Regions from separate parts of the Homo sapiens genome. Here all the other regions are linked to region 2. The links are contacts of gene promoters, found by promoter capture Hi-C in human tissues and cell types (Jung and others, 2019). All regions are on one chromosome and are shown on one strand. The core of a region is centred on a gene start or on the middle of the fragment in contact, and the rest is flanking DNA. Distances in the headings are between cores, read along the strand shown.

Region 1 (3,314 bases), core at 346-2,845, 110 kb before region 2:
AGTGTTATAAAGAAAGCAATAAATGTTACAGCTGAAAGACAACTAAGAGATCAAGTCCAGATTCTCCTTTATTTTACATATGAGCAAAACCAGGCAAAGTCCAGTGACACTGAGTTATATTCACTATAAACCTTTAAAAAAGTTTTTTGTTTTTTCGTCTCAAACAAGTGAAGAGAGTTCTGGAGCCACAGAGGTCTGGGTTCAAATTCCAGTATACCCTTTTGTAGCCACACATTGGGCAAATTATTTAACCTCTTTAAATCTGTTTCTACATCTGCAGAATGTGACTAAAAATATGCTGATTTCAAAGACTGATGTGAAGATTACGTGAGAGAATTAGAGTGTTTTGTAAGTATTTTTTTCACTCAACGTACCTTGCCCATATAGCTCAAGTTCACCAGTTTTTAATGGCTACCTCGAATTCTATTCTATCAAATCTCATTTTTGGAACATTTGAGGTGTTTTCAGTTTTTGCAAAGCCATGAACATCTTCATGCATATATCTTTACCTACCCAAGTGAGCATTTCTGTAGGAATAATTTGCTGAAGTGGAACTGTTAGGAATTTCACATTTAACATTAACAGATATTAAATGGGAGGTGGTCTTCCAAAAAGACTAAGCTAACTCATCCTCTCATTGTTAAGAGAAAAAAACTTTAAATCCTAAAATTTGTAACACTACTAGACTTTCCCACATGCCCTAGTTTTAGAGGCACTCTATCTTCCCTACCCACCACCAATTACTAGATTTATATTGAAATGAAAAGATTAAAGTATGGTTAAAAGGCAAATAAAATGCACAAATTTTGTTAAAACACTTCAACTTATTGTACAACAATATCTTATTAAAAATAGTAGCAGCATATGATGATTTGAATTTTTAAAAAACTAATAAAAAAGTTCTGTAATATACAGAATACCCATATCACAAGGCAGGCAGGGGAAGGAGTAAAGAATAAAATAAATCAAACGATCCAGAAGATGAAACAATATACATTAATCTAAGTTAATATAAAAATAGTATAAAACTCAGCCAGGCACGCTGGCTCACACCTGTAATCCTAGCACTTTGGGAGGCCAAGGCAGGCGGATCACTTGAGATCAGGAGTTCAAGAGCAGCCTGGCCAACACAGCAAAACCCCGTGTCTACTAAAAATACGAAAATTAGCCAGGTGTGGAAGCATCGGCCTGTAGTAGTCCCAGCTACTCAGGAGGCTGAGGCAGGAGGATCGTTTGAACCTGGGAGGTGGAGGTTGCAGTGACCCGAAACTACACGACTGCACTAAAGCCTGGGTGACAGAACGAGACTCCATTTCAAAAAAAAGAAAAAAAAAAAGTATAAAACTCTAGTATTTAATCATATGTTTAAGGAAGGTCATGGAAAACTGTATGGGCAATCCTATTTAGGCTGCTACCTTTCATACATAAAAGTACTACCTATCTTTAAAACATACTGTAAAATATGACTCGGGATATGTTTCAGACATAACATATTATACTACTACCATGGGTAAAATCCTTTTACAATAAATTCCAGGACCTATCAGTTGATATTTAAATTCTTATCCAAAACTTACTGTTAGAGAAAATAAAGGTAAAACAGAAATGTAGAAATCATTTAGTTAAATGATACGTTTGAGAAGTTAAAAGCTGGCTAGAAATACACTTCAGCTTCAAAAGTCAATGGGCTTCCTACTGTTACTACTTATATTTAAGCTTTGATTCTAATTTATTTAAACTTCTCGTTTTATATTTGTGAAAGTAAAAAACAAATGTTTCATTTGTTTTAGTACTAAATATTTAAAATATAACTTTAAATGGAGAAAACTTTGCTTAAAAACCTTTTTATTTCTAAACACTTAAATTTTACAGTAATACAGGTCAAATCTTCTTACAGAGATAAAGTCTATAGCTATAAAGAAAAGGCTAACAAAAAATATTCCTATGCAGACTAAAATGTTGCAATAGAAATTTACAAAAATAAAAATTACCTGGATATCTTGCAGACAAATTTCATGAGCATCCAAAGAACACTGTAGTCTTGGTTCTAGCAGTTTCTTTAAATTGCCTATTGGTTCATTGATGTCTATGGCCTGGCTTACACATTCAGCTGGCGCGTAGGTTTGTTCTACAATGCTAAATGTTAAAGATGTAAGTGCTAACAGTTACATTTTTTACCCTGGATTTCAAAGCAACAATATGCTAAAAACACAATCCCAAACCAAAACACATTTCTGGTCTTTGAAAAGTCATTTCTACATAGATACTGTGGCAGGCTCATCACCAACTAGTGTTGCCAAAATGAACACTGAATTTCATAGAGAAATGCTAAGCTTGAAATTTAAAGCATCCTTGTAAATATGCCTCATTATGTATGTACATACATATGTGTGTATGTGTACACATATAAACATTGCACATACATTATGTTTGCATTTGCATTACATTTTCAAGTTATTTTGAAGAATTTTAGACCCAGAAAGGAAGACACATTGTCTCCTCAAAATCTGTATGCCATCTCTACTAGTCAATTTCCCTTCCCCACATAAAAAAAAAGAAAGATATAAAAATAGAATAAGTTAAATAAAAGACTTTCCCTTTAATTTAATATGAACACAACTGGTTATAATCAGGACAGCTCAACGTTTAAAAAAAAAATGTATATTCTTCCTAAAAACTGTCTTAGTGCTCTTTCATATTATTTCACACTTTGAATTCAAAAGGGTTAAAATCTTTGGTAAGTAATCCTACATAACTCTTACAAATCCTTATATAGGGCCAAATAGACAAATACTAAGTAATATTTGCTGAATTGGTGAATGTGGAATTCAATTAAGTATTCCAACATGTTTAATTTAAATATGATTTAAATCTTATTTGTGATTGTCAAAAACAGTATGCATTAAAAATCTGTCAAGTTTTCACATAAATTACAAGTAAAATGAGATACATACATGATATTCAATGAATGTATATAGCTTAAACTTTTTTCTAAAATATTTATTTATATTTTAATTTTAGAGAGAGTCTCCCTATGTTCACACCAGGCCGGCCTCAAACTCCTGAGCTCAACTGATCTTCCCACCTCAGCCTCCCAAGTAGCTGGGACTACAGGTGTGTGCCATTGCACTTGACTTAAAACATTTAAAATTTATAAAATAGAACCCTCATGATTAAAAACAAGCTTATTTAAAAATACTAGTCTACTATTGTTATTTGTTAAGGTAAAAAAAAACTTTAAGTAAGCCTTTTTACCAAACTCTTCAGCTATAGCCTGGTAGGTTTTTTTTTTTTTTTTTTTTTGAGACAGAGTC
Region 2 (3,075 bases), core at 455-2,954:
GGCGTGAGAAAATATCATTGTATTGTGGTATTAGACACTCGTCCCGCAGGTTAAGTATTATAAGTGTTACTTTACCAGAACGTGAATAGCAACAATAACTCATTTTACAAAAGAAAGAAAGAGAGACAGAAAGAAAGAGAGAGAGAAAGAAAGAAGAAAGAGAAAGGAAGGGAGGAAGGAAGGAAGGGAAAAAAGCAAAACAAAAAAGGTGAGAGAAAAAAGAAAAAGCAAAAGTAGAACTGCATTGCTTAGTCTATTGTAATTTCCTCCATTTTCCTAAAAAGTTAACGCGAAGAAAACAAAATAACGGCAACGTTCCCAGGATTTCAAATCTCATGAGTCCAGAATCCGTGAAAATCCTGTTTAAAATCATCCGGTGAAATTGGCTTTGGGACGTCTCCCCAGCTACTGGATCATGTGGCTTCTGAATCTTTCTAACAATCGTCCCGTTGGATGTCCCCTGAGGACAGAGCAGCTGGCTAGAGTCCCCAGACCAGACTTCTCTAAGTGAATGTAGATGTGCAGGTGGAGAGGATAAAAGTAATTCTGGCTCAGCAGCCACGAATTCCCTCCACCTCCGCCCCACAAGTGCGCTGCATATCGCCGGCTCAGCTGGGACGCTACAGAGCCCAGACCACGCGGACGCTGCCCCCTCCCCGGGGACTCAAAGTGTGGCCGGCGCCCGCCTCCCAGTGATGCCATCTTTCTTGGGGTCTTAGCATCTTACCAGTGGGTAGTGAGTTTTGCATTCGAATCACGTCCCTCTGTCTGAAAACTTACCCCAACTTTGCAAACAGATGAGAACCTGCTAGTGGGAACCCTTAATTTTCTGTATCTAGAACTGACAAAATCAGACGCAATTCACAAGAAACCCACGACCTCGCGCTCCCTTGCTCCCAGCGTCCGCTCGCGGGCACCCTGGGTTTCCCGCTCGCCTGGGCGCAAGGTCAGACGCCCCGCGGCGACCTCGGCCCAGAGCCGCCCAGACACTGTCAGCCAGCGCCCCGTGGGGGGCTGGAGGGTGGGGGCAGGCTGGTCCAGGCAGGAAGGGTAGAGGAACCCGAGCAACTTACAGCCCAGGGCGACCACCAGGTAGCGCAGCAGCAGCAGGAGGAGGCGGTGGCGGCTCCTCCTCGCCATCTTCCCGGGGCGGCAGCCGGCTGCTCTGAGGAGGTCGAGGGTCCCGGCGGCAGGAGCGCAGGAGGCCGGGGGCCCTTGAACTTCTGGGGCGGGAAAGGAGCAGAGAGTCGGGAGGGGAGGAAGAGGAGGGACGGCTCTAGATGGGATGTCAGTTTCCCCCTCCCCGGGGCGCCTTCTCAGCTGGCTGCCAAGAGGCGGGTCCTCCAGCCCAGGGATGGGGGTCTGTTCTGTTTTGGGGGTGTGGGGGTAGGGGCTAGAGGGCGTGAAAACCAGACGAGGCGTCCGCCGGGTCCTAGCGAGGGGGCAGCAGGAGGAGAGCAGCGCCCGGGAAAGCCCCGGCGGGTCGTCCCTCCGCCCCCACGCCTCCGGGATTGATCGGCTTTGTGTCTGGTCCGCGCGGGGCTGCCAGCTGTCCCCAGGGCGAGGAGCTGGGGGCGGGAGGCGCGGGCAGGCTGGGGGTGGGGGGATTGGGTGTCTCGGGGACGGGGATGTATGCGGGTAGGGAAACGCCTCCTGTTTTGCCCCAACTCCTTTCTTCCCCTCGTTGGCTCAAAACTTCTTTCTGGCTTTTCAGCCTAGGGGTGGAGATATTTGGAAAATTCTGCCCAACGGGCGAAGCTGAGGGGGTGGCGCTCTGAGGAGATGGGGTTCGCGGGCTCCGCCTCGAACTCGAGAAAAAAAAAAGCAATCAAGACTCGTGCTGGAAGTCAGGTCTCAGATTTTAGTACAGCCTTGGTCCCTTCTCAGTTTAAGCTTTTTGCTCCTTGGAGATTTGAGGTGCATTTGTCTCGCGTTCTTGTTCTTTGCTTTTTTTTCAGTGTCAGAGTTGGAAGTTCATCTAATGGTGTGAAATATTTATCATGTTTCTTTCAAGTTACATAACTGCTGCTTGTGGAGTTTTCCACGTGTTAAAACTCTACAGCTGCCCTTTGTCAGGTTTATTTTTGGTCTACTGTGCTTTTAAAAGGGAAACCCATTATGAATGCTCTGTTGCGTGCTTTAAAATTGCACCACACTTACATTGGACGCACGTACACTGGCAATTTTTATATTTGTTCCTAGGGACCAAAAATGTATGGTGTATTCAAGAGTATTGGCAGGTCTGGAAAAAGGCCATTCCCAGGAGAAGAAATTAGTATACATCAGTTTTTTTCTTTTGTTTTTTTGTTTGTTTTTGTTTTTGTTTTTTTTTAAAGGTTGAATAATGGATGAAGTTCTGTACAGCAGATAGTTGATTTAGTGGTGTATTTAAAAAGAATTCAGCTAGCTCAGTGGACAAAGGCGACCAGAGTTTAGCTGTGCAGAACTGTGAGGAATGAGGCATCCTTGCTGTTGCCGTGGTGACAGTGATGAAAACTTAGTACCCAGGGAGGGGGTGGGAGGAGAGGACCCAGGGGACCCAGAAAGGAAAGTCAAAATGGCAAAATGTTAAAACTCGTACTCCAGTCAACCGAGGAGAAGGGGCACAGATTTAACAACAGCTTATGCCAGTTTTTCTGGGCAGTAATGAGAAGGATTTGATGCTTAAAAAGAAAAGTTGTTGGCATCTTCTTTTTTCTAATTCTTGCTACAGCTATATGTCTTTTACTCCTCCCTAAAAATATACACAAAAATGTCATACTTAAAAAAATTCTATGCAATCCTATGTGAGTAACTGACTAAGTTATTTATTTGCCACCCAGCCAAGGCATTTGACAAATGGCAACAATGTGCTGGATGCTGAAGGACAACCATGAACAAGATAGAGGCTTTCTTGCTAACAAGCTCACAGTCTTGAGGGGAGACAGAGTCTTATCAGGAAAGATGCCTGATACCACATGGTAAATGTTACAGGAGGACAGAAAATAATAACAGCTATTTTTATTGCATGCTTTCTCAGTGATGGAGTCTGAATAACGCAATATCTAATCCCCCAACAACTCCATAAAAGAGGAA
Region 3 (3,069 bases), core at 176-2,675, 98 kb after region 2:
TGCAGTCCAATTACTTTGTCTTAAAGTTACTTGAAATTATTTCTTCCTGTTTGCTGCTACTTTGATGCAAAATTAAGTTTACTTGTTTAATTTACTTTTGATTTTTAGGTATTGAGTTATTTCTGTTTTATATTTTTGTAATTCATTTGTCTGGTTTCAAAGTCAAATTTATTAAATAAGGTATTTTTACCTTCTTTTCCTGTCTTCTCCTTTTTCTTCTTTGTTTTCCTTAAAATATTTTTATACTATATCCCTCAATTAAAAAATATGTGCATATATGTGTGTATGTGTGCATATAAATATGTATATATCTATGTCTCTATATATCTGCTTCTTTCTCTTAGATAAATGGCAGTGTGCTGTCCACACTTTTCTCCATCTTTGTTTCTTACTTTACAGTATATCTTGGATATCATCCCCTAGCAGAAGATAGAGATAGTCATAATTTCTCAATAAAGTTGCATACTCTTCCATCATAGACCCCAAATTGATGGACATTTGTGTGGTTTTAAAATTTTTTATAATTACAAGTAGTGCTATAATGACTACTTTTGTTTATTAGGTTGGCACAAAAGTAACTGTGGTTTTTCCCATTACTTTCAATGTGCCAACTTTTTGTGCCAACCTAATACGTCTTTTGTATTTTTACCAATTGTATCAGTCAGGGTTCCTCCCAAGAAGGAGAAGCAGCAGGCTATTTATTGTAAGGAATGGGTTTGTGTGATTGTTAGGGATGGCTAGACAGGTCTGAAACATGTAGGGCTGGCCGTGGGAAAGGGTAGGCTAGAACTCCCAGGCACAAGCTGAAGCTGTAGTCTACAGGTAGAATTTCTTCTTCTTCAGAGAAACTTCAGTTCTGCTTTTAGGGCCTTTGAACTGAATAAATCAGACCCACCCAGATTATCTAGGATTATCTTTATTACTAAAAGTAAGCTGATGATAGACTTATCACACTACAAAGTACATTCACAGCAACACCAAGATTAGCATTTGATTGAATAACTGGGAACTATAGCCTAGCCAAGTTGATACATAAAACTGACTATCACACTGATATATTTTTTGGATAGATATTTAGATGTGGAATTGCTGTGTCAAAGGATAAATGCACATATAACTTTTCATGGGATTACCAAATTCCTTTCCAGAAGGATTGTATCAGTTTGCATTCCAACTATCAATGTATGAGAATGGCTGTTTCCCCACAACCTCAAAAACAAAATATATTTAGAATTTTTTTCAACTGGATGAGTAAGATGTTACCTCAATGTGGTCTTATTTTGCATATCTTTAATTATGTGTAAAGCTGGATTTTGTTGCTGGTTGGATTATTTTCAATCTAACACTACTTCTTTCTGCCATGACTGTGCAGTGCCCTAGAGTGGGTATAGCCTATTTTCCTGTCCCAGTGTCTTCCTTTGCACAATGGAATGTTAATGGATGAAGGCATTTAAAGTACAAGTCATGTGCTTGCATGATTTGACTTGGCCTCTTTTGCTTCTGTGGTCGGCCATGAGAAGAGCATGCAATGAGTAGTCTCTGATCCAAAGTGAACATGGAGCTACATGAATTAGAGCTGAACCTAACCTTTAGCGTGTAGCCTGGGGCTTAGAGCCCAAAACCCAGAGTCAGGGAACTCTGAGGTGTTGAACTTAATTTGGTCATGGGGTGGCCAAACATATTACAGTTTATTTGTAGCCAACCTGCAGACCTACAAGTATGAAACATATGGTTATTATTTTAAAGAACTGGGGTTATTTGTTACACAGAACTATTGCAGCCATGACTGATTAGTATGCTTTTATTTGTTTAAGTCTGCTTTTGAGTCTCTGAGGAGTGTATTTATAAGATTTATAGTATCATATACAATATTTAAAGAATTCTCTTACATATTTGTTTTCATAGCCTTAAACTTTTTAAAAATGTTTGTTCATTCATTCTTTCATTTAACAAATATTTATAGAGTACTCATATGTGCTAGACAATTTTCTTGGTGCTAGGAATACATTGGCAAACAAAGCAAAATATCTGCACTTATAGAGCTTAAATTCTAGTGATATTTTCATTCATTGGACTTGCTTGAAGTTTGTGTGTTTCACTGGTCTTTTCTAAATAAATAGTTCTTGGATTTATTTACTAAGATTCATTCTCTCTTCCATATTTCATTACTTCCCTTTTTTAGCTTTATGCTTTGCTTCCTTCTATTTTATTTTAGTTTATTTTATTGTCTTTTTTCTAATTTCTTGAGTTTCTAATTTCTTTCTCTATTTCTTATAAATAAACTTAAAGCTAAAATACTTCTTTGAGTACTATTTTGTCTCAATTTCATTAGTTTTTATGTGTGTTGTCCTGGTTTTATTAATTTCTAATTAGCTCATAATTAAAGCTTACATTTCTTCTTATTCAAGCACTTAAAAATAACTTCTAATACTTCTAAGTGGCTTTTTGTGCATGGTTTGTTTTGTAACAGTCTGTTCTTGCGTTTTTAGGTATAATTTTTTTCTCAAATCTCTCTGGGATAAAGAACTTCCAGTTATGGAGCTGTGAAGAGTTTGGGCACTGGAAATCAACTAAAGGCAAACAACAAATTGAGAAACACTTATTCTTAAAAAAACTGCTAGAACTTCAAAGAGAACAGTAGGAGTGTTTTTTTTTTAAATTTTATTATTATTATTATTATTTTTTTGAGTGGTACCGTGCCTACTCCCTCTTCCCCAAGTTAGTTGGCAAGAATAAGAGTTTTACCAGCATTAGAATGATGTTGAAAACAAACAGCTTGCTGCCAGAGGGAGTGAATTTAATTTGGTTATAAGGTGAAAGTGATACAGGATTTTCTGGCTGGTGACACCTCTGCCCAGGCCTTTCCTGGGCCTGGGCTTGCCTCAGGAGACACCCCGTCTACTCAGACCACTGGACCACACCTGGCTTGCACTCTGGCGCAGATCCCATGGCTGCCGTGACTGTACCCTCAGCCCCTGGTGGGAGGGTGTGTGTGAGTGAGTCAGTGTGGGATCCAGCTGGCCATTCCAAGTACCAGCACAGGAGCAGACTCTGTGTGGGGCTTGTGGC
Region 4 (3,083 bases), core at 461-2,960, 87 kb before region 2:
TGTGGGTCATTCATTCGTTTGTGCAAACAAACACATGGAGAGTTCTGAGGGTAGACCCTGGGCTGGCATCCAGCACTGCCACTAATTAGCTCTATGACCTTGGGCAGGTTTAACTTCTGTAGGACAGTTTTCTCATATGTAAAAGGAGGATGATGGTAGTACTTACCCATTTCATAGGATATTATAAAAATTAAATTATTCAATACATTAGCATGCCTAGTATTTGCTAGTGAAATGAACAAGTATCTTCTGAGTGACTGCTTTGTCCTAGGCATCATGTGAGAGCCTAGGAATATAGTAATAAGCAAGATAAGCAGCAAGACTTACATTCAGTTGAGGAGGTAGATGATTTCTGGCCTCTTTTTATCACAAGAGTGCATATTAAAGTTAAAATAGCCATCATCCATCTGTAACCAGTATTAGAGTATCTAGTTGAAGGATCTATTTAGAACCGCAGTGTCCATTTTGGTTGCCGTTATCCATGAGACTATTCAAATTCTAATTACAATTAAGTGTATTTATAAATTCAGTTTCTCATTTTCTCATTCATGTTAGCTATATTTCTAGTGCTCAATAGCCAGATATGGCTAGTGGCTGCCACACTGGACAGCACAGACAGAGAGCGTTTCTAACATCACAAAAAGGTCTATTGGACAGTGCTAATCTAAAAGAAAATTGGGTCTCTAACAAGAAATATTGATAACAAGTTCTTAAATTGGAGCCACCTATGTATTTTTTGTGCATGTTCTTTAACTTAAATAAGACTGTATACTTTGATCATAGGCATGTGTAAAAATGTTATTACCCTTGAAGGAATTTTCATGTGTACATTTTTTTACATTTAGAATATTGTTCATTGCTAGGTAGGCAGTAGTATTTATGACAAAAACAGAAGAATTTCTTCAAAGAATTAATGAGACCCAGTTGGCCCTGCTGCTGGTCCATAATGCTATATTTATTTTCCCAAAATGCACAAGTCTAATTTTGTCATTTTATTGCTTGGCAAATAAAATACAAACTCCCAGGCTTAACATTCCGGGCCTCCCATGATCTGGGGTCTGCTGGTTTTTCCATCTAGACTCCTTAGCATTCCCCACATACAGCCAATCCCTTACCACCTCTATGTCTTTGCTTTTTCCATCTTAGAAGGTCTCAAAATAAACCCTGGCCCCAGATGCCTGATGTTTCTCAAATGCCACCTTTTTAAAATGAAATTTTCCCTGATTAGCTTAGCAAAAGTAATCTCTTCCTCAACTTGAATAGCTTTTTGTTAAATCATGTCTTTGAAGCTCATCACATCACTCCTTTACAGCATAAATGTTTGTAAACATGTAATTTTTTTCTTCGAAATTGCAAAATCTCTGAGGGTAGGAAATAATTTGCTTCTTTAATAGGACCCCTATGGTAGAAACTTAAAAGTCTAAGGTCTTTAAAAGCCATTTAGTGATGGCTGACTTAAAGCAGATGATATTAGTAGATAATAATTGAGTACTCACTGTGTGCCAGGCACTGTGCTTAGAGGTACGTGTGCATTTACACCCTCGTTTGGTAGAACCTTCATATTTAGTTGTGGAAACTAAAATTTAGAGTGCTCTGTGCCTTACTCAGGTTTACGCAGTTGCTGAATAGTTGAACTTACACTCAAACAGGACCAGTCTTTGACTCCAGAGCCTGTAGACTTAACGATACACCTTTTGCAACTTAGACCCTGAGAAATTCTGACTTAGTGAGTGTCCGTGATTCTGAGAAACCTTGAATGTTAGAGATTGGTTTGAGGATACCTCATTTATGTGAAACCTCATCGTAATAAAATAGTTTGAATTGAAATTGAAGTAGAAATACTTATTTTCTTTCTGAAGTCTTTTCTTTGACTACATGAATGCTTTAAAAAGGTCTATTGGCCGGGTGTGGTGGCTCACGCCTGTAATCCGAGCACTTATGGGAGGCCGAGGCGGGCGGATCATGAGGTCAGGAGATCGAGACCATCCTGGTTAACATGGTGAAACCCCCTCTCTACTAAAAATACAAAAATTAGCTGGGCATGGTGGCGTGTGCCTGTAATCCCAGTTACTTGGGAGGCTGAGACAGGAGAATCGCTTGAACCAGGGAGTCGGAGGTTGCAGAGAGCCAAGATCATGCTACCGCACTCCAGCCTGGCGACCAAGCAAGACTCCGTCTCAAAAAAGAAAAAAAAAAAAAGATCTGTTGGAATGTGGTGGTGAAAAGTAATTTTGTTTTTGTAAGCTAGTACACAAAATTAATTTTTGTTTGCTCATTTACTTAACAGGACATCTGGAGGACCTGTTGATGCTAGTTCAGAGTATCAGCAAGAGCTGGAGAGGGAGCTTTTTAAGCTCAAGCAAATGTTTGGTAATGCAGACATGAATACATTTCCCACCTTCAAATTTGAAGGTACGTCTTATAAATCACAGATTCATTCTTGTGGGGGATAAGTGAAGAATATTTACACTTACCTGGATTTTTAGAGAACTGAATGACAGTGTTGACATGTGAATTTATTAGGACCATGACGTGTGCCTGAGAAGCTGCCGGCTAAATGTTTGCTGTTAGAATAAGAGCAGTATAGGAGATCACATAACATAGTGATTAAATGGTGGGGATCTGAAATCGAACTGCCCAATCTTGAATCCTTATAATCACTTTCAGCTGTGTAATCTTGAGTAATTAACTGGTGCATGTCTCCTCATCTGACATTTGGGGAGAATTATAGTATCTTCTGCATATGTAGTTAAATGACATAATATATGCAAAGTCAATTAATGGAATGCATGGCTCATAGAAAGTGTTGCATAAATGTTTAGCTATATTTCTATGTAAATGTTTACAAACAGTGTTTACTAAAAAAATCAGAAAATTGATGAGTTAAATCTTGAGCATTCTACATAATCCATTTTATTGCAATTTGGCTAAGCTTGACCCTTTTTTCCCCCTCTTCTTAGATCCCAAATTTGAAGTCATCGAAAAACCCCAGGCCTGAAGAAATAAAGTAAAATTAATCTGGTAATTTGTCACGGATTAGTTGTACAACTAGTTAGAAGTTTCAGAATAAACATGCATTTCAT

What was found. Contacts are between HindIII fragments. The study calls those that stand out against the background at their distance.
Region 1: a contact is called between a fragment that was not itself captured here and the fragment with the promoter of JAM2 in region 2, in 3 of the 25 tissues and cell types used here (dorsolateral prefrontal cortex, lymphoblastoid cells and mesendoderm cells).
Region 3: a fragment that was not itself captured here is called in contact with the fragment with the promoter of JAM2 in region 2 in 2 of the 25 tissues and cell types used here (lymphoblastoid cells and mesendoderm cells).
Region 4: a contact is called between a fragment that was not itself captured here and the fragment with the promoter of JAM2 in region 2, in 3 of the 25 tissues and cell types used here (dorsolateral prefrontal cortex, heart left ventricle and hippocampus).

Annotation. Positions count from the first base shown.
Region 1 is chr21:25,744,032-25,747,345 of GRCh38, reverse strand. GABPA (GA binding protein transcription factor subunit alpha) reads right to left here. Exons shown (of 10, transcript NM_002040.4): 3 at 1,992-2,136. Among named protein-coding and RNA genes, the nearest start is that of GABPA, 11 kb to the right of the region's middle. The HindIII fragment of the contact is 6,409 bases long and covers 1-3,314 here.
Region 2 is chr21:25,637,887-25,640,961 of GRCh38, reverse strand. JAM2 (junctional adhesion molecule 2) reads right to left here and starts at 1,704. Exons shown (of 10, transcript NM_021219.4): 1 at 1,074-1,704. The coding sequence starts at 1,140. RefSeq lists enhancers at 722-791, 694-1,194, 1,932-2,071 and a silencer at 1,522-1,711. The HindIII fragment of the contact is 5,846 bases long and covers 703-3,075 here.
Region 3 is chr21:25,539,734-25,542,802 of GRCh38, reverse strand. No RefSeq gene overlaps it. Among named protein-coding and RNA genes, the nearest start is that of MIR155HG, 21 kb to the left of the region's middle. The HindIII fragment of the contact is 7,043 bases long and covers 1-3,069 here.
Region 4 is chr21:25,724,555-25,727,637 of GRCh38, reverse strand. It overlaps ATP5PF (ATP synthase peripheral stalk subunit F6), which reads left to right. Exons shown (of 4, transcript NM_001003703.2): 3 at 2,288-2,412; 4 at 2,961-3,083. The coding sequence ends at 2,998. Among named protein-coding and RNA genes, the nearest start is that of ATP5PF, 8.8 kb to the left of the region's middle. The HindIII fragment of the contact is 7,027 bases long and covers 1-3,083 here.